Regions from separate parts of the Homo sapiens genome. Here regions 2, 3 and 4 are each linked to region 1. Evidence: promoter capture Hi-C in 16 types of primary human blood cells and fetal thymus (Javierre and others, 2016). All regions are on one chromosome and are shown on one strand. Each heading gives the region's core, a stretch centred on a gene start or on the middle of the fragment in contact. The rest is flanking DNA. Distances are from core to core; before and after follow the strand shown. Region 1 holds the start of CYTH4 (cytohesin 4). Region 2 has its middle 20 kb from the start of ELFN2. Region 3 overlaps CARD10 (caspase recruitment domain family member 10). Region 4 overlaps KCTD17 (potassium channel tetramerization domain containing 17).

What was found. The method cuts DNA at HindIII sites, captures the fragments that hold promoters and counts their contacts. A CHiCAGO score of 5 or more calls a contact.
Region 2: a contact is called between a fragment that was not itself captured here and the fragment with the promoter of CYTH4 in region 1, in 2 of 17 cell types (non-activated CD4 T cells and naive CD4 T cells). The highest score is 5.7, in non-activated CD4 T cells.
Region 3: a contact is called between a fragment that was not itself captured here and the fragment with the promoter of CYTH4 in region 1, in 5 of 17 cell types (non-activated CD4 T cells, naive CD4 T cells, total CD8 T cells and 2 more). The highest score is 8.0, in non-activated CD4 T cells.
Region 4: a fragment that was not itself captured here is called in contact with the fragment with the promoter of CYTH4 in region 1 in 1 of 17 cell types (activated CD4 T cells); the score reaches 5.2 in activated CD4 T cells.

The regions. Positions count from the first base shown.
Region 1 is chr22:37,280,355-37,285,699 of GRCh38, forward strand. CYTH4 (cytohesin 4) reads left to right here and starts at 2,154. Exons shown (of 13, transcript NM_013385.5): 1 at 2,154-2,234. The coding sequence starts at 2,216. RefSeq lists enhancers at 1,913-1,962, 3,509-3,558, 4,171-4,280 and a silencer at 4,511-4,630. The HindIII fragment of the contact is 11,420 bases long and covers 1,231-5,345 here.
Region 2 is chr22:37,445,289-37,450,334 of GRCh38, forward strand. No RefSeq gene overlaps it. Among named protein-coding and RNA genes, the nearest start is that of ELFN2, 20 kb to the left of the region's middle. The HindIII fragment of the contact is 4,099 bases long and covers 1-4,059 here.
Region 3 is chr22:37,501,319-37,506,887 of GRCh38, forward strand. It overlaps CARD10 (caspase recruitment domain family member 10), which reads right to left. Exons shown (of 20, transcript NM_014550.4): 7 at 4,874-5,065; 8 at 3,317-3,451; 9 at 2,868-2,983; 10 at 1,867-1,895; 11 at 1,284-1,407. Among named protein-coding and RNA genes, the nearest start is that of CARD10, 15 kb to the right of the region's middle. RefSeq lists enhancers at 744-1,343, 1,344-1,941. The HindIII fragment of the contact is 2,177 bases long and covers 2,579-4,755 here.
Region 4 is chr22:37,053,216-37,058,366 of GRCh38, forward strand. KCTD17 (potassium channel tetramerization domain containing 17) reads left to right here. Exons shown (of 9, transcript NM_001282684.2): 3 at 3,105-3,196; 4 at 4,183-4,278. It also overlaps the pseudogene RN7SKP214. Among named protein-coding and RNA genes, the nearest start is that of KCTD17, 4.0 kb to the left of the region's middle. RefSeq lists an enhancer at 1-129. The HindIII fragment of the contact is 5,049 bases long and covers 188-5,151 here.

The DNA of each region.
Region 1 (5,345 bases), core at 904-3,403:
CCGACTCTCTGGTTCAAGTGATTCTCCCGCTTCAGCCTCCCAAGTAGCTGGCATTATAGGCACCCGCCACCATGCCCAGCTAATTTTTGTATTTTTAGTATAGACGGGGTTTCACCACGTTGGCCAGGATGGTCTTGATCTCCTGACCTTGTGATCCACCCGCCTCGGCCTCCCAAAGTGCTGGGATTACAGGCATGAGCCACTATGCCCAGCCCACATTTCTAGTTTTAAAATGGCCAAGGGCATGGTTTGTGGTGCCTCAGGCCCAAAGCAGTTGAGAAAAATCTAGTTTACCATGGAAATAATTGTAACAAGTTTTCCAGAAAAGAACCATGAGTTATACAAGAACCCAGGTGGAGGCAGGGCAGGGGAGAAGCAGCGGGGTTCAAAAATCCTGAGCACACTAGACGGGGACTTAGTAGGCCTGGCTTCTGGGCCTGAATTGGCACTCACTCAAGTTCCAACTTGGTCAAGTGTTTCCCAGAAATAAGCCTCAGTTTTCTCTCCGAGGAAATGACAGCATTGGATTTCTTCTGTATCAGCAAGCTTTGGCTGCATAACAAAGCATCCCAGAAGTTGGTGGCTTAAACCACAAAAATGTATTATTTCCCACAGTGCTATGGGTCAGCAGTTTGGGTGGGACTCCGCTTGATGGTTCTTCTTCTGGTGTCCCCTGGCCTCACTGATGAGGCAGCAACCAGGGGACAGCCAAGACAGCCCAGCCTATCTCCTTGTGGTCCTCCGTCTTCCAACAGGCTAGCCCAGGCTTGTTCTCATGGTAGCCAGGCAGGGGGCTGAGAGCAAGAGCAGGAGCTGCAAGGCCTTTTAAAGCTCAGCCTCGAACATCACGGCACATCATTTCTGCCACGTGCTATTGGTCAAAGAGATGCCCAAGGCCAGCTCAGCTTCCAAGGAAGGAGAAATGGACTTCGCCCCTTGACAGCAGAAGCGGCGGCATAGTGAAAAGGAGGTGAACTTGTAGCTAGCTTTCACATCGGCCGTGATCTCTTCCATGTTCCCTTCATTCATTCATTCATTCATTCATTTGTTCATTCATTCCACACTTGCACACCCTCTATGTCCCCAGCATTTTACCACACACCAGAACACAAAAGGTAACCTTGCCCTCATGGGGCCTGGAGAGTAATGGGGAAACAGATGAATAACTCTGCATGTGTCCTGAAGTTATAGGGAATTCACATTTAATTTATACCTGTTTCTTTACAGCAAAGCTTTTTGCAGAAAGGATTTGAACCAACCTGCCAGAAAAGGCACAAGGAATAACATGATACATTTTAACCAAAGAAGATAATTAAAATCAAAGGAGAAAGTGTTTATTGAGCACCTACTATGTCCCAAGCATCTCCGACACATCCTCTCACTCCATGGTTTCCATATCCCCGAGTTAGTGTTATTCCCCTTTCAGAGATAAGCAAAGCGAGGCTGACTAGCCCTAGCTGAGAGTCAAACAGCTGAGTCAGGCCCCAAAGTTCACATGACATCATAGAATAGCTGTCGATGAGCTTTGGATTTGACGATGAGTTTCCCAGCAGCCTGGGGGAGAAGGAAAGTGGAACATATTACCCGATTGTTCACTAGACAAGAAAAAGCCAGATATTTCTTTGAAGGGAAGCAAAGCCCTTCCTAGCAGTGAATTCATTTGTCTCTTCTCAAGTGGGAGTTGGAAGAGAGCTTGTGGGGTGGAACACAGGGGGCCCTGCTAGGACTGTCCAAGTTGGGCGCTCCTATGGCATATATGTGAGGAGGCTGCCACGTGAATGCCCATGGTCCCCTGGAAAATGTTCGTCCTCAGTGAACATCGCCCTCGGTGTCTGTGCATGTGTACGTGTGTATGTGCATATGTGTCTGTGTGTTTCTTTCTGTCTCACTGTCTTTCTCTTTTTTATCTGGCCCTCCCCTCACTTCATCTGTTTGTTTGTTTGTTTGTTTGTTTGTTTCCACCTCTGTCCCTCCCTGGCAAAAGTCCCTGCTGCTCAAAACTCTGCCAGTTTTTAGGAAGTGCTGTTTTGTCAAAAGCCTGCACACGAGACCCCCGTGGGCCAGGACTGACTTCCTCCCCACACAGGGCTGGGCGGGGCAAGCAGGAAGGAGCCTGTTACAGTCAAGGTGACGCATCCTTGCCGGGCCAGCCCGAACAGCAGCTGGGTCGGCAAGCGACAGGAGCACGGGTCATCTTTTCCCCAGAGGCGTCGGAATGGACCTGTGCCACCCAGGTAAGCAACTGCCGTCAACCTCTCTGGGCCTCAGGGTGCTCTCTTTTAGAATGGGACAGCAGCCCCTGCCTCACAGGGTCCTAGATAAAGGAATACAGCGCAGGTGGGAAATGCAGCTGCAAGAAGCAAACATTTGTGGGCTCAGCCTGTGTGTCCAGTTGCGTTCTAGGGGCTGGACACACAGCAGTAGCAAAGCAGACGCTGTTTCCCCCTTCATAGGCTTGTGCTCTAGATGAGGAGACCGGCAGTGACTCTAATGTGATTCCATATGTCAGTTGATGGCAGGTAGGATGAAGAACAGTAAAGCAGGGTAAGGAAGACAGGAATGCATGGTGGAAAAGGCCCCAAGAGGAGATGCTGTCTGATGAGGGACCTGAGGAAGATGTCAGCTAAGGGGCTTTCTAAGGAACAAACATTCCAGCCAGAAGGAACAGCCAGTCCAAAGGCTCAGAGGTGGACTCAGAAAAGTGACTTGCGATTAAGATGATGATGGGATGTTGGTGATGGCGATGCTTGTCTGGGTGATACAAGGGCCTTGAGGCCCCTTTTTGGCCCCCGGGGGTTGGGGTGGTCTTTGGGGAGGCTGAGGACGCTGCCTAGAGCCAGGGGAGGGCCAGGAGTGAGCAACAGAGGCTCTGGTTGAAACCCTCCCCAGCTACTAAGACAATGTGTCTGGGGAGAAAGAGGAGAAAGGAGGCTGCAAAGATGGTGAGGAAAAGAACATCAGGGTCGTGTTTTGGGAGGCAAATTGAAGGCCCGGTAGAGGGGCCAAGTTTCTGCACCCTGGATGTCAGCATGCTCCAGAGCTGCAACAGTTCTGGTGAACACGGCTGCTGGAATTCCAGAACCTAAGGGCTCGTGGGAGCTGTCTGCTCCCCAGGTCCAGATGACCTCAGCCTTGTCCAGGAGCACCCTTGCTTCAAACGCACCTAATGTGGAGCAGCCTGGCCCCGCCCACTGGGCATCCCCCTTCCTCCCCACCCCCAGATGGAAGCCTCGGGCCCCAGGGAACCCAGAGAACCACTGATCCATTTCAACAGCCCCCCCAGTGGCAGAAGGGAGAAAAGAGGCCAAGGGAGGAAAACAGCCTCTCTAAGGCAGGAGCAGGACCAAATCCTGTTCCCTGAATCCCTATCCAGGGCTCACTCTGACCCCTGCCTCTCCCATGGGCTTTGGGGGCTCCCAAAATCACAGCTCAGTGAGCACAGCTTGGGGGCACCTGGTTGGCACAGGGAGACCCAGCGAAGGGCAGCACCTGGCTCAGGCCTCTCAGCAGACATGAGGGTGGGATGAGGGGGGGAGGGCACCCACCGAGATGCAACCCCCCTGCCTGTGTGTCCAGCAGGGCGCTTTGTCCTTTCGGGTCCTAACATACTGAGGTTACAGGGATGGCTGTCTCCATGTTGCAGATAAGGAAACTGAGGCTCCCAGAGGTGAACTAGAGACGGGGACTGACTTGCTTGAGGTCACACGGCCAGTCAGCAGCAGAGCAGGGACGAGAACCTGCGGGAGAGAGCCCCAGGTTGGCCGGGGCTATGGAGAGGGCAGGGGAGGGGAGTCTCTGCTTTGCTTCAGCCGGTACTAGGGAGGAAATGGATTAAATGGGGTCAATGGGTTCTCCATCGAGTAGTTGGTCTTTTCATTCATTCACTCTACAAACGACCTTCCAGTGTGCTATGCAGTGCTGGGGACAGCAGTGACCCAGCCATGGGCCTAACCCTGGGGGACAGGTGTTGGTCTGGAATGTTGGGGGTGGGGTGGAGAGGCAGGAGCCACATCCTGCAGGACCCTGACCCAGCTGTGCAAATGGACACAGACCTACAGATGGGAGGAAGCAACTTTTCCCACTGGGGCAGAGGAGATCTGGGAAGACCTCCTTGAGGAGGAGGCCAGAGGGAGGGAGAAAAGGTCATTTCCCTGTTGCCCAGACTGGGTCTTAAATGGGGCTTCTTCATGGCACGGTGACTTCCCCTCTCTGAGTTCTGATTTGTCATCTCTACGTGGGTGCCATCATCCTGGCCTGGCCTGGGGAAGCGGGGATTGGGAGTTAGCCGGACCTCGCTCAGGTTCCAGCTCTGCACCACCCTGCCAGTGGTCATGGTCTCTTCCTTCTATGGGCCTCAGTTTTCTCACCTTTATTATGGACAGGCTGGTGACTCAGGGGCCCCCAGGGCTGCCTCCCCTCCTCTCCTGAGGTGGGCCTGTGTCGGGAAGCAGGTAAGGCGCCCTCCCCCAGGGCCTGCCGGGAAGGTGAGAGGGCCAGACAGCAAAGCCCCAGTGTGGCCAAAGACAAGCACTGTGCTGGTGCAGAGAAGACAGGCAGCGCAGTTAAAAATAGAGCCAGCTCGGCTGGGGCGGTGGGGGGGCGGCGGGGGAGGAAGCCGCACTCCGCAGAGCCTGTGGGGCTTGTGGGGCTGGGGCGGGGAGCAGCTCCACCCACACCCCCTCTGCCCCAGGGTCCCTCCTACTGAGACTTTGAGGGGCCTCTTTATTTAGGGCCCTGAGATGGCATCCTCCTCCTGCCCTGGAAAGGGGAAGTGAGGCCAGCTGTCCTGGAAGCAGGGCTGCAAGCTCAAAGATTTCTAAAAATACGATGGGAAAGAGGAAGGACAAAGAGGAAGTGGGGAGGAGCCGGGGAGATGGGCACATTCACCAGCCTGGGCGCAAGGGCAGCACCAGCCTGTGGGCTTGGGGTGGGGGTTCATGTCACACCTTGTGAGGTTGTGAGAAGCACAGAGATAAGTGAGAAGGAAACGGGGTGTGTGGTGGTGGTGGTGGTGGTGGTAATTTTATTATTTGTGTGTATTATTATTAGTATTTAAAAATTCATCTCCTGGCCAGGCATGGTGGCTCACATCTATAATCCCAGCACTTTGGGAGGCCAAGGCAGGTGGATCACCAGAGGTCAGGAGATCGAGACCAACCTGGCCAACATGGTGAAACCCCCGTCTCTACTAAAAATACAAAAAAAAATTAGCCGGGCCTGGTGGTGGGCGCCTGTAATCCCAGCTACTTGGGAGGCTGAGGCAGGAGAATCACTTGAACCTGGGAGGTGGAGGTTGCAGTGAGCCGAGATCAGGCCACTGCACTCCAGCCTGGGTAACAGACAGA
Region 2 (5,046 bases), core at 760-3,259, 160 kb after region 1:
TTTTGAGATGGAGTCTCGCTCTGTCACCCAGGCTGGAGTGCAATGGTGCGATCTCGGCTCACTGCAACGTCCACCTCCCGGGTTCAAGCGATTCTCCTGCCTCAGCCTCCTGCGTACCTGGGATAACAGGTGTGTGCCACCAGCCCAGCTTATTTTTGTATTTTTAGTAGAGACGGGGTTTTACCATGTTGCTCAGGCTGGTCTTGAACTCCTGACCTCAGGTGGTCCACCCACCTTGGCCTCCCAAAGTGCTGCTGGGATTACAGGCGTGAGCCACTGCGCCGGCCCATTTTCATCATTTTTAAATACACAGTTCACTGGCATTTAGTACGTTCGTGTTATTGTGCAAACATCACCACTGTCCAGTCCATTTCCACGCCTTTTTCATCATCCCCAACATAAACTCTGTACCCATTCAACGATAATTCCCCAGTTCTCCCTCCCCACTGCCCCAGGTAACCCCTGATAACCTCTGTTCAACTATCTCCATGAATTTCGCTATTCTAGGTACTTTATATGCATGGAGTCATACAATATTTGTCCTTTTTTTTTTTTTTTTTTTGAGATGGAGTCCCATTCTATCACCCAGGCTGCAGTACAGTGGTGCGATCTCGGCTCACTGCAATCTCCACCTCTTGGGTTCGAGCGATTCTCCTGCCTCAGCCTCCCAAGTAGCTGGGATTACAGGCGCCCGCCACCACCCCTGGCTAATTTTTGTATTTTTAGTAGAGACAGGGTTTCGCCATGTTAGCCAGGCTGATCTCGAACTCCTGACCTCAAGTGATCCACCTGCCTTCGCCTCCCAAAGTGCTCAGATTATAGGCATGAGCCACTGCACCTGGTCAATATTTGTCCTTTTATGTCCGGTTTCTTTCACTTAGCATAATATTTTCGAGGTTCACTCATGTTGTAGCATGCATCAGACTTTCCTTTTTCAGGCTGAATAATACTCCACTGCATGTCTACATCGCATTTTGTTAGTCCGCCCTGTGTTGATGAATACTTGGGCTGTTTCCACCTTTGGCTATTGTGAACAAGGCTGCCACAAACATAGGTGGACACATCTGTTTGAGTTCCTGCTCCCAGTCCCTTATGTGTCTAGGAGTGGGACTGCAGGATCATATGATGATTCTATATTTAACTTTTTTTTTTTTTTTTGAGATGGAGTCTTACTCTGTTGCCCAGGCTGGAGTGCAGTGGCACGATCTCGGCTCACTGCAACCTCCACCTCCCGGTTCAGGCAATTCTCCTGCCTCAGCCTCCTGAGTAGCTGAGATTACAGGCACCCGCCACCACGCCTGACTAATTTTTGTATTTTTAGTAGAGACAGGGTCTTGCCATGTTGGCCAGGCTGGTCTTGAACTCCTGACCGCAAGTGATCCACCCCCCTCAGACTCCCAAAGTGCTGGGATTACAAACATGAGCCGCCACACCCGGCCCTATATTTAACTTTTTAAGGAACTGCTAAACTGTCTTCCACAGCAGTTGCGCCATCTACGTTCTATTATTAATTTTACATGTTATATTTGATTTAGTTTTTTTTTTTTTTTTTTTTTTTTTTTTGAGACGGAATCTCACTCTGTCGCCCAGGCTGGAGTGCACTGGCACGATCTCGGCTCACTACAAGCTCCACCTCCCGGGTTCACGCCATTCTCCTGCCTTAGCCTCCCGAGTAGCTGGGACTACAGACGCCTGCCACCACGCCTGGCTATTTTTTTGTATTTTTTAGTAGAGATGGGGTTTCACGGTGTTAGTCAGGATGGTCTCGATCTCCTGACCTTGTGATCTGCCTGTCTCGGCCTCCCAAAGCGCTGAGATTACAGGCGTGAGCCACTGCGCCCAGCCCAATTTAGATTTTTTAATGATGACAAATCTGAGTTTACCTAATTGGTGGTGCACACGGGCACCCTGTGCCATCCTGTAGTCCAAAAGGTCACAAGTTTACGCGATGCTCCTCTGGAGTGTTTCAATTCTAAGATTCTGCAACTGAAGGCTGAAATTCTAAGATCTTTTCATGCTAGGATTAAGACCTGTGGCATTCCATTCTGAGGTTCAGAGAGACAGGATCTGTGAATTCACTTCCAGACCACCATGGTGTACGTGGGCTCAGCCTGCCCTGTCTTCTCCACACTGCTTGGGAGGAAGGCTGCCAGAGGCTAGGCAGCTAGGGAGGGGCAAGAACTCACCACCACCAGCAGCTGCAGCCATGGAGCTGGGACTGTGGGAATGGAGAGGAAGAAGTGGAGATGGGGACAGATGGAGGAGGAAAGAGCAAGACCTGGGGACCCACTGGAGAGAGGACAAAAGTCCCAGATCCCCTACCTGCCTGACTGGGGCTGGTGCAGTCAATAGGAAGGGCTGAGAGAAGAGAAAACCATTCACTCATTCAACAAACATCCACTGAGCACTGGGATGCCAGCTGGGAGCGGGGCCTATGGGGATGGAATGACCCAGCCCTGCCCTGTGCCCACTCTTGTGTGTCTCTACTTTCACCGAGTCTAAGCAGCCTGCCAAAGGTCTCCCCAAAAGAACCACTGCCACTCAATCATAGCCACCATGCATGCGGGGTTCACCCCATGCCGGCTTCATTCTGAGCGCTTTACCTAGATGATGAATTCTCACCACCTGCGCTACTTTACAGGTAAGGTGACCGCAGCTCAGAGAGGCTGAGTAGCTTCCCCAGGATCACACAGCTGGGGAGTGAAGGAGCCCACACTCGCCACCCCAAACTGCCTCTCTACATGCACAAGCCTTCTCTGAGGATCCTGAAGGTGAGACGTGGGAAGGGACTGACACACATTCCACAGAATCGGAGGTTTCCAAGTCCTCTCAGGGGGGTTTCCAAGTCCTCTCATCAATATCCCTCCATCTAGCCCCCTCAGGCTGTCTCTGGGTCCCCCTTCCTTCTGCCCAGATCCCTGCAGTGCCCACCCCACCCTCTGCAGCAACAAATTTCTCTTCCTTCCGGAAAGCAGTGGCTGATATGCCCAACCTACCATGGCGGCCTCCACAGAAAGCCAGGCCCTCTCACTCCCCGTGAGCAGTCAGGGCTGCTAAGAACAAACATTTTTCCCCTTTGTCACATAGAGTAATAGACTCTTGAAAAATCACATTCTGGGAGGCTCATGGCTGAATCTTATAATCTGAGACTCTCCATCAAAGAACCTCAGAGCCACCGACTAATAGAATCTCGAAGTCAGTGACTGGAGAATCCTACGATGCTGCACTCTCTCCATCACTGACTGGACAACAGCTGGTGTCACAGAGCAGGGCAGGCAGGGAGGCTGAGGGATCGGGGGGGCAAGAAAAGCCTTGGGGTACAGAGGACAGGGTGGGGTGCTGGAGGGAGGCCCAGCCTGTTGTCATGCTGGAGGAAGCAGTTGGTGGGTGAGGCCTGGCTTTGTTACTGATGGTTTTTAATTATGTAAATCAGCCCAGGGCCTGCGCCTGGCACAGGCTTGGCATTCATCAGCTGGCAGCAGAATTAATCAATAAACAACCAGCTGGATGGGCCTGGGCATGAACACCCAGCCACGCCCCCACCACCCCTCCAGAGGGGTCCTCCCAGGTGGGCAGGGGAGGAGCTACACGGAAGCTGCCGCTCCCGGCTGTCAGTGCAGTTGCACACACGCACGCACATGCACCTTGCGTGCGTCGGCAGCTTGGACTCACTGTGCATATGCACAGGTGAACACACCTGCACATACAGAGAGGTGTGGCATACAAAGCACGCACTCAGACCCTCCGCCCCCGCAGCCCAGCACACATGCAGGAATACAGCCGTAAGAGGCGAGGGCCTCGTTACAGCCTCACATTTCACAGCTCACAGCCACGCCATTCCCCTCTACAACCCGCCCTGGGAGGCTGGCTGGGATGGGCTGGGCTGGGCTGAAGCCCTCGTTTTACAGATGAGGAGACTGAGATCTAGAGAAGGGACTTGCCCAGCATCCTCCCCAGGGGTCCTTCCTCCCAACCCACCTCACTCCAAGGTACAAAGGGGCTGCAGGCCCAAGAGAACTGAGGAAGGAAAGTGAGAGGCACAGGCGCTGGTGGCCCCAAAGCTTCTGAGGCAAGGTCCCCTCCCTGAAAGCAGGGCCCTTGGTGACCTGGCAGAGAACAGGGCAGGACAGGTGACCCAGTGGGGGCACAGGCGGGGGCCGGGCAGGAGCAGGCGGTGGAGCTGGGCACCAAGGCCCTCTCTGCTCTCCAGGGAGCCATGATGGATGGCTGCCTCCCAGCCAGCGTGCTCACTCCTGCTCCCAGGGCTGCCCCATAAATCAGCTCCCTCATCTCTGCCGTGGCTGTTCCTTGATCGCTTTTCAGCATCGAGGGGAGAGGGGGAAGTTCACCATCCCTAGCGGCAGGAGGGGGCTAGCAGCGAGGATCATAAAATTAATAGAAAGCTTTTCTCTTCCCCTTTTTGCCTTCTCTCAGCTTCCAGCTTTCTGCCAGCCTCTACCCCTCTCTGGCTGGGTCTCACTAAATACTGAGTGAGGAAATAGGACCTGAGGCGTGGATGAATCTCCGAGACATCTAGCACTGTGTGTCTCTGTCGCAGCCTCAGCCACGGGGTTTCCTAGCAGCCCCCAAAGACAAGGAGAGGAAGCAGGAAGGTGTCCTTCCTGGTCCGAGCAGATCTCAAGTAGCTCTGGAAGGAGGCCAGGAAAGGGCCTTGAGTGCTAGGGACCCCTTTTAGAGATCAGCCTTTTGGAGCCCCCCACCCCTTGGAGAAGCTGATGAAGGCTGTGGGTGTCTGTGAAGGCCCTGGGAACTCGACGCCACACAGCGCAGCAGTCAGTAGTTCAGCCTCTGCGGCCAGCCTCCCCAGTCCAATTTCAGGCTCTGCCCCATAGTAGCTGTTTCACCATGGGCAAGCTGCTTCCCCTCTCTGTGCCTCAGTTTCCTCATGTGCAAAGCAGGGTGAGTTACAGGACCTGCATCCTAATCAACAGATACATATTCTTTAGAAGAGTCACTGGGGATTATAGAGTTAAATGCTCTAAATATTATCAAGTGTTATCATTATTAAAGACACTGGCTCTCAGA
Region 3 (5,569 bases), core at 2,417-4,916, 220 kb after region 1:
CCCTGGACAACAGCCAGGACCCCTGCTGCAGCCCAAACTGGAGGAAGGGAGGAAGGGCCGAGGCGAGCAGGAAGGGAGGCGCCTCCACCCCTTCCCCGAGAAGCACGTCCTGCACAGGCAAAAACAATGTCTCGCTGAGCCCACTGCCGGGGGCCAGGTGGGGGCAGGGCCTGGACACTGGCTGACCAAGCCGCTCCGGAGGCCAGAGGCCCTGGTCCTATGCTGTACCCATCTGCTGCGTGACCCATCCCTCTGCACCCAACACCTCCACATTCCAGCGCTGACAGTCCATGTTTCCTATGCCCTTTCCAAAACCCAAATCTGATCAGGTCACTATGAACCCAGACCTGGTACTTCCCAACTGTGGGACCCTGGGCAAGTTGCTTAACCTCTCTGAGCCCCAGTTACCTCCTCTATGGAGCAGAGATAATCGTCATTATGCCTACTCCCTGGACAAAGAGCATGTTGTAAAACAGCCAGCAGCTGGCCTTGCAGTTAATAACTAAACCCTCCCACATTTCCCAGAGTGTACAAGCCAAAGTCCACACTTTCCCAGCCTGACTCAGGAAGCCTTGACTTTCGCCCTTCCCCCTCGCTCCTCCTCCACAGTCACCGGATGCTCTCCCTACCTGCCCTCTCCTCACAGCTGAGTTCCAAGACCACAATGGCCGTGCAGCCCCCGCTCTGCCCCACCCCTCCCTTAGATACACTGGCAGGTGTGAACAGCGGCCACGCACCGGCCACACTAACAGCACGTCGCCTACAGTGCACTCTGCACTAATGGGCTTTGTGACTCCTGTTATGGACCTGTGGCTGGCCCGGTCACAGGGGCTCCTGAGGTGACCCAAGCCCACCCACAGCATGAAACTTTGCTGGGTGGCTCAGTCCCAGGGACTCAGAGCCAAGGGACTGACAGGCAGGACATTGGGACGAGGACAGCTTGTAAGTGACAACTATTACTAAGCACCTGCTACATGCCTGGCAGAGCTGGGTGCTTTGCTTCTGCGAGCAGAGCCCTCAAAAGACCTCCATGCAAAAAGGGTCATCATCTCCCTTTAGCTACTGAGGAAATGGAGGCCCAGAGAAGTGAAGGGACCAGCCCAAGTCACAGGGACGATCAAGAGCGGCAGCAGGATTGGAATCCAAGGGCTGCCAGTGTCTACAGATCTTAATCTTCCAATAGTTGCATAAAACAGGGGCGAGGCAATTGCTCCTCCCACCTCACTCCTGTTCCCCTCTCAAGCAATCACCCCAGCTCCACCCACTGCAGGCAGCTACAGTACCTGTTGAGGAAGTCCAGGCCACAGCCCCGAGCCAGGAGGCCTTCCGGCTTTCCCAAAGGCCACACGCTGTCAGAGGATGAGGACGAAGAGAGGCCAGGGGACCAGGGCTTAAGTGTCACACTCCCTGGGGAAAAAGAATGAGGTTCAGGGATCTGGCACTGGGAAACAGGGATGGCCAGGGTCCATGACAGGGACTGACCCCCCTCCAGCCCAGAGAGGCCTTGGCAGGTTTGAGGCCCCAGGAGCACATCAGACCCACTGGGCTCAGAGATAGGTCAGGGCCCACCAGGCTGACCCCGCAGTTTCCCAGAAGAGGGTGAAAGGTGGCCCAGAACTGAAGAGCCTCGTACATCACAGCCGGGAACAGGAGTGAGGCCCAGGACTGGGCTCGGGGTGAGAGGCTGGAACCAAAGTCCCCAGGGTCCTCCCAAGCACAACCTTCCTGCCTGGCAGGGGCCACGGCGGGGCTTCAGGGAAGGGGATGCAGGCCAAAGGTAGCGCAGGTGGTGCAGGCTTCAGGTGGGCTGCAAAGCCACCTCCCCCGACCAGAGGAGCCCTCCCCACGGAACTCAAGGGCTGTTACCTGTGATGTCTGACATGCTGCTGAAGGATCTGGGCAGAGAGAGGGCAGGGAGGGGGCAGGAGGTGAGGCACAGTGGGCACTCTGCCCCGCTCCCTCCTCCTGCCCCCACACCAGATAAATGTCTCACAGCCCCCAAGCAAATGCAGGCTAGACTCAAGGCAGGGTCCCAGGTACAGGGCACCCATGCCACCTGGCTCCCCTAAACTCCCAGGGTAAGAAGTTAATGTCCTGGCCTCTGTCCAATGTTGTTCCACCTACAATGCCCTGGCATGCCCTTCAAAGCCAGCTCTTTCAATGCCACCTCCTCCTGGAAGCCACCCCTGATCTCTCACCCCTCACCTCACCCTCACTTGCCACCTTTGTGGTTTGTGACTCCCAGGTACGCCTCCTAAATTAAACCATGACCTCCTCATCAGACACCTCCTTGGGACAGATTTACGCAGATCAAGGCCATACTGACCACAGCCTCCCAGGGCCCAGCCTCTCACCAGTAAAGGAATAAATCAAGGGCTGCTTACAGGGGAAAAGCAGTGACAAGGATCGCGCCCCAGGAGGCAGGCTATCTCCCGCCCTTGGTCTTGCCACCAGAGGGTGCGCCTTGGTTTTTCTGGTCCCTATTTGCTGCTGATGCCCAAACCTGGGGCCTGGCTTTCTTGCCGGAGGTCCCTGATACCTTGAAACATTCTCCACGCCCCCTAGTCCTGAACCATCAAGCTTCTCCTTGGGTATAGGATCTTCAAGGCTTGACCCCCAGTGACCCTCCTGCCAGGATGCTTGGCTAGGACTGAGTTCGCTCTGCCCATCGGCCTTATCTTAAGCCTGACCTTGGTCGCCCCTGTGACTCACAGGACCTGGGTTTCCAGAGCTCCAGCCATCTGAGGGCAATAAAGGGAAGTGACTGCCTGGACCTGACTTTGGCATTGCAGATTCTGGGAGGTGGCTGTTCGGGAAACGGCAGCCCCACCTCCCTGGGTGTCTACTGCTATCCCCAGCCATCTCACCTCTTAGGGGGTGCGGGGTCTTCCTCACGCTGCCGGCGGAGGATGGAGCCGGCACTGGGGGGGAAGGGCAGGATGGAGAGCCGATTGATCTCCTTTTCACTGTCTGTGGCTTCCTCCTGCAATGCCATGACAGGGCCTGGGTCACCCCCACTGCCCAGCACCATCCCAGTCCTCAGCACACCTGGTTTGTGCCCATTCCACAAATGAGAAGTAGGGCCCAGAGCAGAAGAGCGGGCTCTGCAAGATTATAGTGTGCGGGTGGCTCCCCACGCCTCCTGGCACCTATGCCTGGCAAGGAAATGGTTCTGGGTGAGCTTCAGTAAAGTACTTGGCCTCCCTGCGCCTCAGTGTCCTCACCTGTGAAATGGATCCTTCAGAAAGCACTCTCCACATTAGTAATAATGCTATAGCAGTGTCCCCCCTTATTTGGGATGGGGCAGTTGTCTTACCGAGTTGTGAGGCTCAGGTCCCCCCATGACAGCTGCCTCCCCAGTTGCTTCTGGGCCTCCCAGAGGGGAGGGGAACTCGCTCAGGCTCCAAGTGCTGCTGAGGTTGGAGCACAGGGAATGGGAGGAGGCACAGGCCTGGAAGAGGGAGAGGAGAGGAAGGAGGTGAGCAGTGCTAGGCCCACGTCAACCACAGTCCTTTACTGAGCACCTGCCATGTGCCAGCACAGGGACAGATCCCTGTCCTCAGGGAGCTCACAGCCTAGAATGGGAGATAAACTGTAAACCAGCAGACATGTGAACAAAATAGCCCCAAGCTGAGACAATAGCAGAAGGAAGGTGCCCAGGGCATGGAAAACACACAAAGACCCCACCCAGCCTGGGAGTCCAAGTACTCTCCAAAGAAACTGTGGTTTGAACTGAGAACTCAAGGGTATAGAGGCGCTAAGTAGGTCAAGCTGGGATGGTCCAGGCAGATCAACAGCATGTGCAAAGGCCCTGAGGCAGGACTGTGATGCATTCCAGTTGAAAGACTGGAACCCACAGAACCAGGCGAGAGGACAAGAGGAACCCCACCCGCAGGGCCTCTTGGCCATGAAAAGGGACTCTGTCTTTACCAAACAGCAAAAAAGCCACTGGGGGTTAAAAAAAAAAAAAAGTCTTGGATTAATGCTGACTTTTCCTATATTCCTCCAGGCCCCAGTGCTTCAAACACCAGGCCTGCGGAGCTCACTGTCAGGCAACTCAAAATAAGAAAACGCAGGCTGGGCGTTCGCACCTCTAATCCCAGCACTTTGGGAGGCTGAGGCAGGAGGATCCCTTGAGGTCAGGAGTTTGAAACCAGCCTGGCCAACATGGTGAAACCCCCATCCCTACTGAAAATACAAAAAAAAACTTAGCTGGGTATGGTGGCAGGCACCTGTAGTCCCAGCTACTAGGGAGGCTAAGGCACGAGAATAACTTGAACCTGGGATCCAGCCTGGGTGATACAGCAAGATTCTGTCTCAAAAAAAAAAAAAAAAGGAAAAAGCAGAGCTCCCGGCAGCAGCCTGAGGACCACGATCCAATTTACAGTGGGTCTGGGACTCCAGCTCCAGTGCTAGCTGGCTGTGTGGCCTTGGGCAAGCCCCTCACCCTCTCTGGGCCCTGTGCGATGAGAGGATTAGACCAGCTGGTCTCTGAGGGATGCTTAGGCCCATGTTAGTCCTGACTAGCTGGTCTCTGAGGCCCAGGTTTTGCATTCTAACATGCACACAGGCACTCAGGCAGCCAGCCTTCCCCAGTTAAATGCAAAGACCAGCTCCAAACTATTCTTAGTGTCCCAGAAGCAACCCCAGAAACTCAGAGACCAACATGCCCCTCCGCCTGCTCACCAGCCCACACCCAGCCCAGCCTGGGTTCAAGTTCCCGCCCCTAACTGAGGACTCTTCCCACTTCCCCCAAGCTTCCTCCCCTGGCTGAGGTCTCCCACCAGGGCCGGCACGTTCCCAGCCCTGGCCAAGAGCTCCTGCCAGGACCCCAGCCTTCCTGCCAGGACCTCCACAATCTTGACCCGCTCACCTTGAGGCAGGTGCCACCCTGGGCCCGCTGCAGCTGAACCTCCAGCAGAGCCTTGGTGCCCTCCAGGCTGGTGAGCGTTGTCAGCAGCTCATCCCGCTCCGCCTCCAGGCCCCGCACCTGCTTGCGGTACTGGTCCTTCTCGATGAGGCTCTGTGAGTACTGCAACTGGATCCGGTCACGGCTCTGGATGGCCTAGGGTTGGGGGAGGGGAGGCAGCAGCTGAAGGAGCCACCTTGGCCCAGCTTTCCTGGCCTATGACTTGGAGAATGGGGACAGTAAGGAGAATGGCAGCTATCACTTACTGAGCACTGTGTGCCGGGCCCTGAGCTAAATTATCAGCTCATTTAAATATCTTCACACTAACTGGCTAAGTTAGATACTATTAATATCATTATTCTCATTCTGCAGACTGGGGAAACCAAGCCAGGAGCGACAGAGCTGGGATTCAAATCGGGCAGTCCATCTGCAGAATCCAGGCTCTCACCATTTCACCAAGAACTGAAAACTTTTCCACGAGACCTGCTGTGTGCCAGGGGCTTCACTCCCAGCATCCCAGTCAGTGGAGAAGCCAGGAGTCAAACCCAGCCCACTGCATCCACAGTGAAGACCAGGGGCTCCAGAGCTGGGCCCATGGTCCAGACCTGTCACCCATGCCTCAGAGAGAGCCGGGGGCAGCCCCATAAAATGCAGATTCCT
Region 4 (5,151 bases), core at 1,462-3,961, 230 kb before region 1:
GGTCCAGGGGGCTGGCCTGGACCTTATGCAGCCTGCCAGGGCCCTCTGTGGAGGCCCCAAGCCATTTGGACAACCAGGACGGCCATCTGCCTGCTTGGTTGTTTCCTGCCTCTTCCCAGTCGGACGGGGCTGATTCCCAAGCATCTGCCTGTGCCGAGCCTGGGGCTCTGCCAAGCGGACGGGCTCAAGCTTTCCCTGGGTACTGTCAGGGAGGTGAAGAGACACATGTGCAGGGGATAGAGGAAGTCAGCGAGGCCCTGTGGCCTCTGCTGTGGGCTGTGACGCCCTTTCTCTCTGGCCTCCTAGGAAGCCAGGTGTGGACGGTCACATCCGGAGGCTGGGGTGACAGGAATGCAGTGTTGACAGGCATGGGGAGAGCTCTGTCTCTCTTTCTCTGGCTGATCCAGTATCTCAAATTCTGCCTGGTGAGGGCTTGTAAGTGGGTGGAGCGGGTGACTGTTCACTAAGTCTGGCAGCCTGTGCGGCACAGTGCTGGCTGTGGGTGGAGGCAGGAGAGGGGGGAGTCTGCTTCCCAGTGGGGCTTTGGTTATCCCCAGGCCTAGGTGGCCGAGGCCCTGGATATGCCCATATCCGGGCCTAACAAACAGTGGGGAGGCCATGTCTGGGAGAACGACCTGTTAGCAGAGCTGCAGCCAGGGGCAAGGACTACAGTCAGTGCCAAGTTAACTCTTCTTTGGGACACAGGGTGTGGCTCTGGGTCAGCTGATCCAGCCAGACCAGCTTGAATATGTCACTTCTCCTCACTGCGTCTCCACTGGTATCTATTCAATGGGGGCGGTGATCTGCCTTCTGGAGGGAGATGTCATAAATCCTGCACCTGTGCGTGCCTTCCTGCTCTGGGCCATGGTCTGCCCTCCCTGAGCCCTATGGGACACAGTGGTCTGGAGGCCCAGCAACTCTCTAATAGGTCAGGGCCACAACACCAGAGTCCACTGTAGGTGCCTGGCCCTGCAGAGCCCCACAGCTTGCCTGTTAATCCCTAGGGGAGCACAGATACCATGGGCGTGGCCTAGGCTCAGGAGCAGGCCCCATCGGGAGGGAAGTAAACACCCCAGCTGCGTCGCAGCCAGCACCTGTTTACACGCCCTGCATTCTCAAAGCCCTGCTATTCCCACACCGTCAGACAGCGCTGTCTGGGGGCTAGAGGATCAGACAGGGTTATCTGGGGGCTAGGGGATCACACAGGGCTATCTGGGGGCTAGGAGATCACACAGGGCTATCCGGAGGCTAGGGGATCACACAGGGCTATCCGGGGGCTAGGGGATCACGCAGGGCTATCCGGGGGCTAGGGGATACACAGGGCTAGGGCTCATCCAGGGGATAGGGGATCTGAGAGGAGACTTACTAGCTGTGTGACACTGAGAAAGTGACCTAACCCCTCTGTGTCTGCATGCCCCCATCTGTGAAATGGGGGACCATAGCACCCACCTCACCGAGCTGTCATGAGGATAAAAGGAGTTAATAGTGCAGCATGGAGCTCAGTTCCTGGCCGGAGGATGTGGGATGCAGTGCTAGCTGTCTGTCACCTGCAGGGCTCCGCCCAGGGCACTGGGGATAATTCTCGTAATCAGGCAGCTGCACTCCCTGACCTCCTGCTCTGTGTTTGGTCCTGTGTGGGCACCGGGGACAGAGGGCAGATCAGAAATGTGAGCCCCATCTTAGCCATTTCAGGCTGCAATCATGAAGTAACATAGATTGGGTGGCTTATGAAAATCAGAAATTTATTTCTCTTGGTCCTAGAGGCTAGAAACCCGAGATCGGGGCACTGTGGCAGGTTCTGGTGAGGACTTTCTTCCGGATTGCAGACTGCTGACTTCTCGTTGTGTCCTCACATGGCAGAAAGAGAGGGAGCTAGCCCTCGCCCGCCCCTTCTCGAGAGCTTGTTTGGAGGTTCTAGCAGGGGAGCGCAGCTACTCACATACCCTTGACCAAAGTCCGGTCCTCCTCTATCGGGGGTGGTCGCCCCCTTCGATGGAGCTCACAGCTTCGGGAGGGACACACCTGGAGCAGTGAGGGAGGAAGGGGACACACATCTAGCCAGCCAGATCAGCTAAATCAACCCTGGTGATCAGTGGAGTGACAGATGTCCCCGCCAGATCGCCCTCACATCCAATTAGCCTTTCTTATAAGAAGACTGATCCTACCCTGGGGACTCTACCCCCATGATCTCATTACCTCCCCTCCTAATCCCATCACAGTTTTCAGCAGGTGGATTTTTGGGGAACACACACATTCTGCTCATAATGAGCTCTGTCCCCAGGGAGCCCAGAGGCCAGTCAAGGAAAGGGCCCAAAGGTCCCCTGCCTTCTGGGAGCCTAGGGGAGTCGAAACAGCTGCAAGCTCATCGCTTCACTGGTGGGCTGACTTCTTCATCTCCCAGATTAACTTAACTGTAAGATGGGGACAGTAATGCCTGCTCTCCTCATATCCCTGGACTTGTGATGAGCTCGTGCAGGGTGTTGCAAACTGTAAGGTGAGGCAGTTGGGGGAATGCATGGACACAAGGGTATGTGCTTACAGTGGGGAGACATGGGCTCTGGAGTCTGCAGCGCTTGAGTTCCCTCTGGCACTTACCAGCTGTGTGACCTTGGACAAGCTGCTTCTCTTTGGGAGCCTCAGTTTTCCCAGTTGTTCAATGCAGATGATGAAAGTACCTCCTTCTAGTTCTGAGAATTCAAAAATGTAATGCACCTGGCACTTAGAATGTGCTTAATAAATAGGAGCACATAATCAGGGGTCAGGCAAGGCCCTGCTCATGGTGACATTCTGGGGATCAGTCCCAATGACCCTGCTGTCTCTTGATAGCCCTAAAGCTGCCCCAGACGGTGGCCTGGCAGGTACCCCTGGGTCACCGCACTCAGCACAGCAGAGCTGTGTGGCAGCCCCTCAGCCCCTTCCACAGGAAGTGTGGGATCCAAGGAAAGAAATGCTCCCTCTTACTTGACCCCTGAACTCACAGACACTCAGCTCACCCTCAGGGCGGGTGATCAGAGCGAGAGGTGGGTTTCGGGGTGGAGGGAACAAGAGGAGAATGGGGCATGGAGGCAGAAGGAGTGACCTGGGATCTGTTCTGTCTGTGCCAGGGGTCCTGGAGGAAGCCGAGTTCTACAACATCGGCCCGCTGATCCGCATCATCAAAGACCGGATGGAAGAGAAGGACTACACGGTCACCCAGGTCGGGAGCAGGGGCAGCACACACGGCCAGGGCAGGGGCCAGTGGGGAGAGAGAGGCTGAGAGACGGGGCGGGAAGCAGAGGAGGTTGGGAGAGACAGGACCAGTGTTTGTCATGGGGAGGCCGAGCTGGCCTGTAAGGAGAGGCATGGTTGGGCTGACAGGCTGCCCAGCACAGCCCCAGACTCGGAGACGGACACTGGGGTTCAGTCCCTGTCTCAGCCCCATTTGCTGTGTGTTGGGCCAGGCTCGCCCTCTCCGGACCTTGATTTTCTCTTATGGGATAGAGAGGGGTGGGAATGGCACACCCATCCCTTCCTCATAGGCAGAAGGGGGTCAGTGTGGAGGTACAGGGTGCCCTGCAGAGGAAAATGCAGGATTAGCAAATTGTGCCTTTTGTGGCATCAGATGGTCGCCTGGTGGGCTCGGCACAGGCTGTTGGGGCTGGCGTTTGTGACCTTGGAGCCTGGGCCTCCCTGGCCAGTCTGCAGGAGGAGGGAAAGAGATTTTCCGCCTACTCTGGGGGATGTGTGAGGGTTGGGGGACAGGTAGTGAGGAACCATTTCTCAGGCCCAGGGGATTAAAGAGGGGAGGCTCCGTGTCTCCTTGAGGGCCTGACTCCTTGAGGGTGACCCAGAATGTTCCCTAAGCCCCACCCATGTTCTTTCTTGAATTACCCGTGTTCCGGTTCTGTCTCCTTCACCCTTGAGCTGGGTGACCTTGGGCAAGTAACTGGACCTCTCTGAGCCTCAATGGAAAGTCCCGTAATGCCTAGGATTCTTGGAAGGATTAAGTGAGATGGTGCCTGGTAAATGCCTGGTGAGGAGCAGGTGCTCAGAGCATGGCTGCCTCCCCCCAACCACCTCTTCTTTCTCTCCCTCTCTTCTTCTTTGGGTATGTTGCGGGGGTGGTGGCAGCAGGTGCTCATGCCCCTCCTGGGGTGCCTGGTGCTCCCACAGGTGCCCTCTATGTGACCCTTCTGCCCACAGGTCCCACCCAAGCACGTGTACCGCGTGCTGCAGTGCCAGGAGGAGGAGCTCACGCAAATGGTCTCCACCATGTCTGATGGCTGGCGCTTCGAGCAGGTGCGCTGGGGACAGGGGCGTGCCACCAGGACAACCCTGGGACCTCCTAGCCTCTGACCAAGCAGGCCCCTCCCTTCCTGCAGCCCCAGCCTTGGGTTCCCCACCACAGTCTCCCCCAACCCCAGGGTTCTTCTGAAATCAAATTAAACAAGGTTAGGAGAGACCACACTTGGTGGCAGGTTGACCGAGAGAGAGGATAGGAGCCCCAGTGGCCATAGGACAGCACGGGGTGTCCTTGTTGGTGGGAGTCCTCACAGCAACTGGGTGGTGATCTATCTGGTGGCATGAGTGAGTCTGTGGCCCCCGAAGGACAGCTCAGGTGCAAGGAGACCAGATCCACATAGGTGAGTGGAGTCCACATTGAGTCAGTACCTCTTAGAACTCAGAGTCAGCATCATGCGATCATAGCAGTTCCTGACACAGTTTTCAGGGTCTCCGCAGGGGACATGCCCAGTGGCCAGCATTGCAACATGCAGGGGAGCCCAAAGCAGTGCCTTCCCATGAGGTCTTTATGGTGAACGGTGGTTCCTCCCAGTCCAGATGCAGTTTACCCATCGGGAGATCCTTATCCCGAGGGACTTTATCCCTAGTCATGCAGCTGACCTCCCACCTTTCAGGTTTCCAGAGGAGCAGAGCCAGAAAGTGAGCCCAGGGTCAAAAGTGCCTTTAGAGAAGGAGAGGGGGTTGGCTAGCCTTTCTCCACGCCCACCCACACGTTCCCTGGCACATGGAGACTGCAAGGCAGAAGGTCGGAGCCCCCAGGATGGCCTGGAGGGATGGAAGAATGGGCCTAGTGCAGAGCCAGAGGCCTGGCTTCACCTCTAGGCCTTGCCACAGACATGCCTGCCACCTTGGGCAAGTTACATCTCCTGT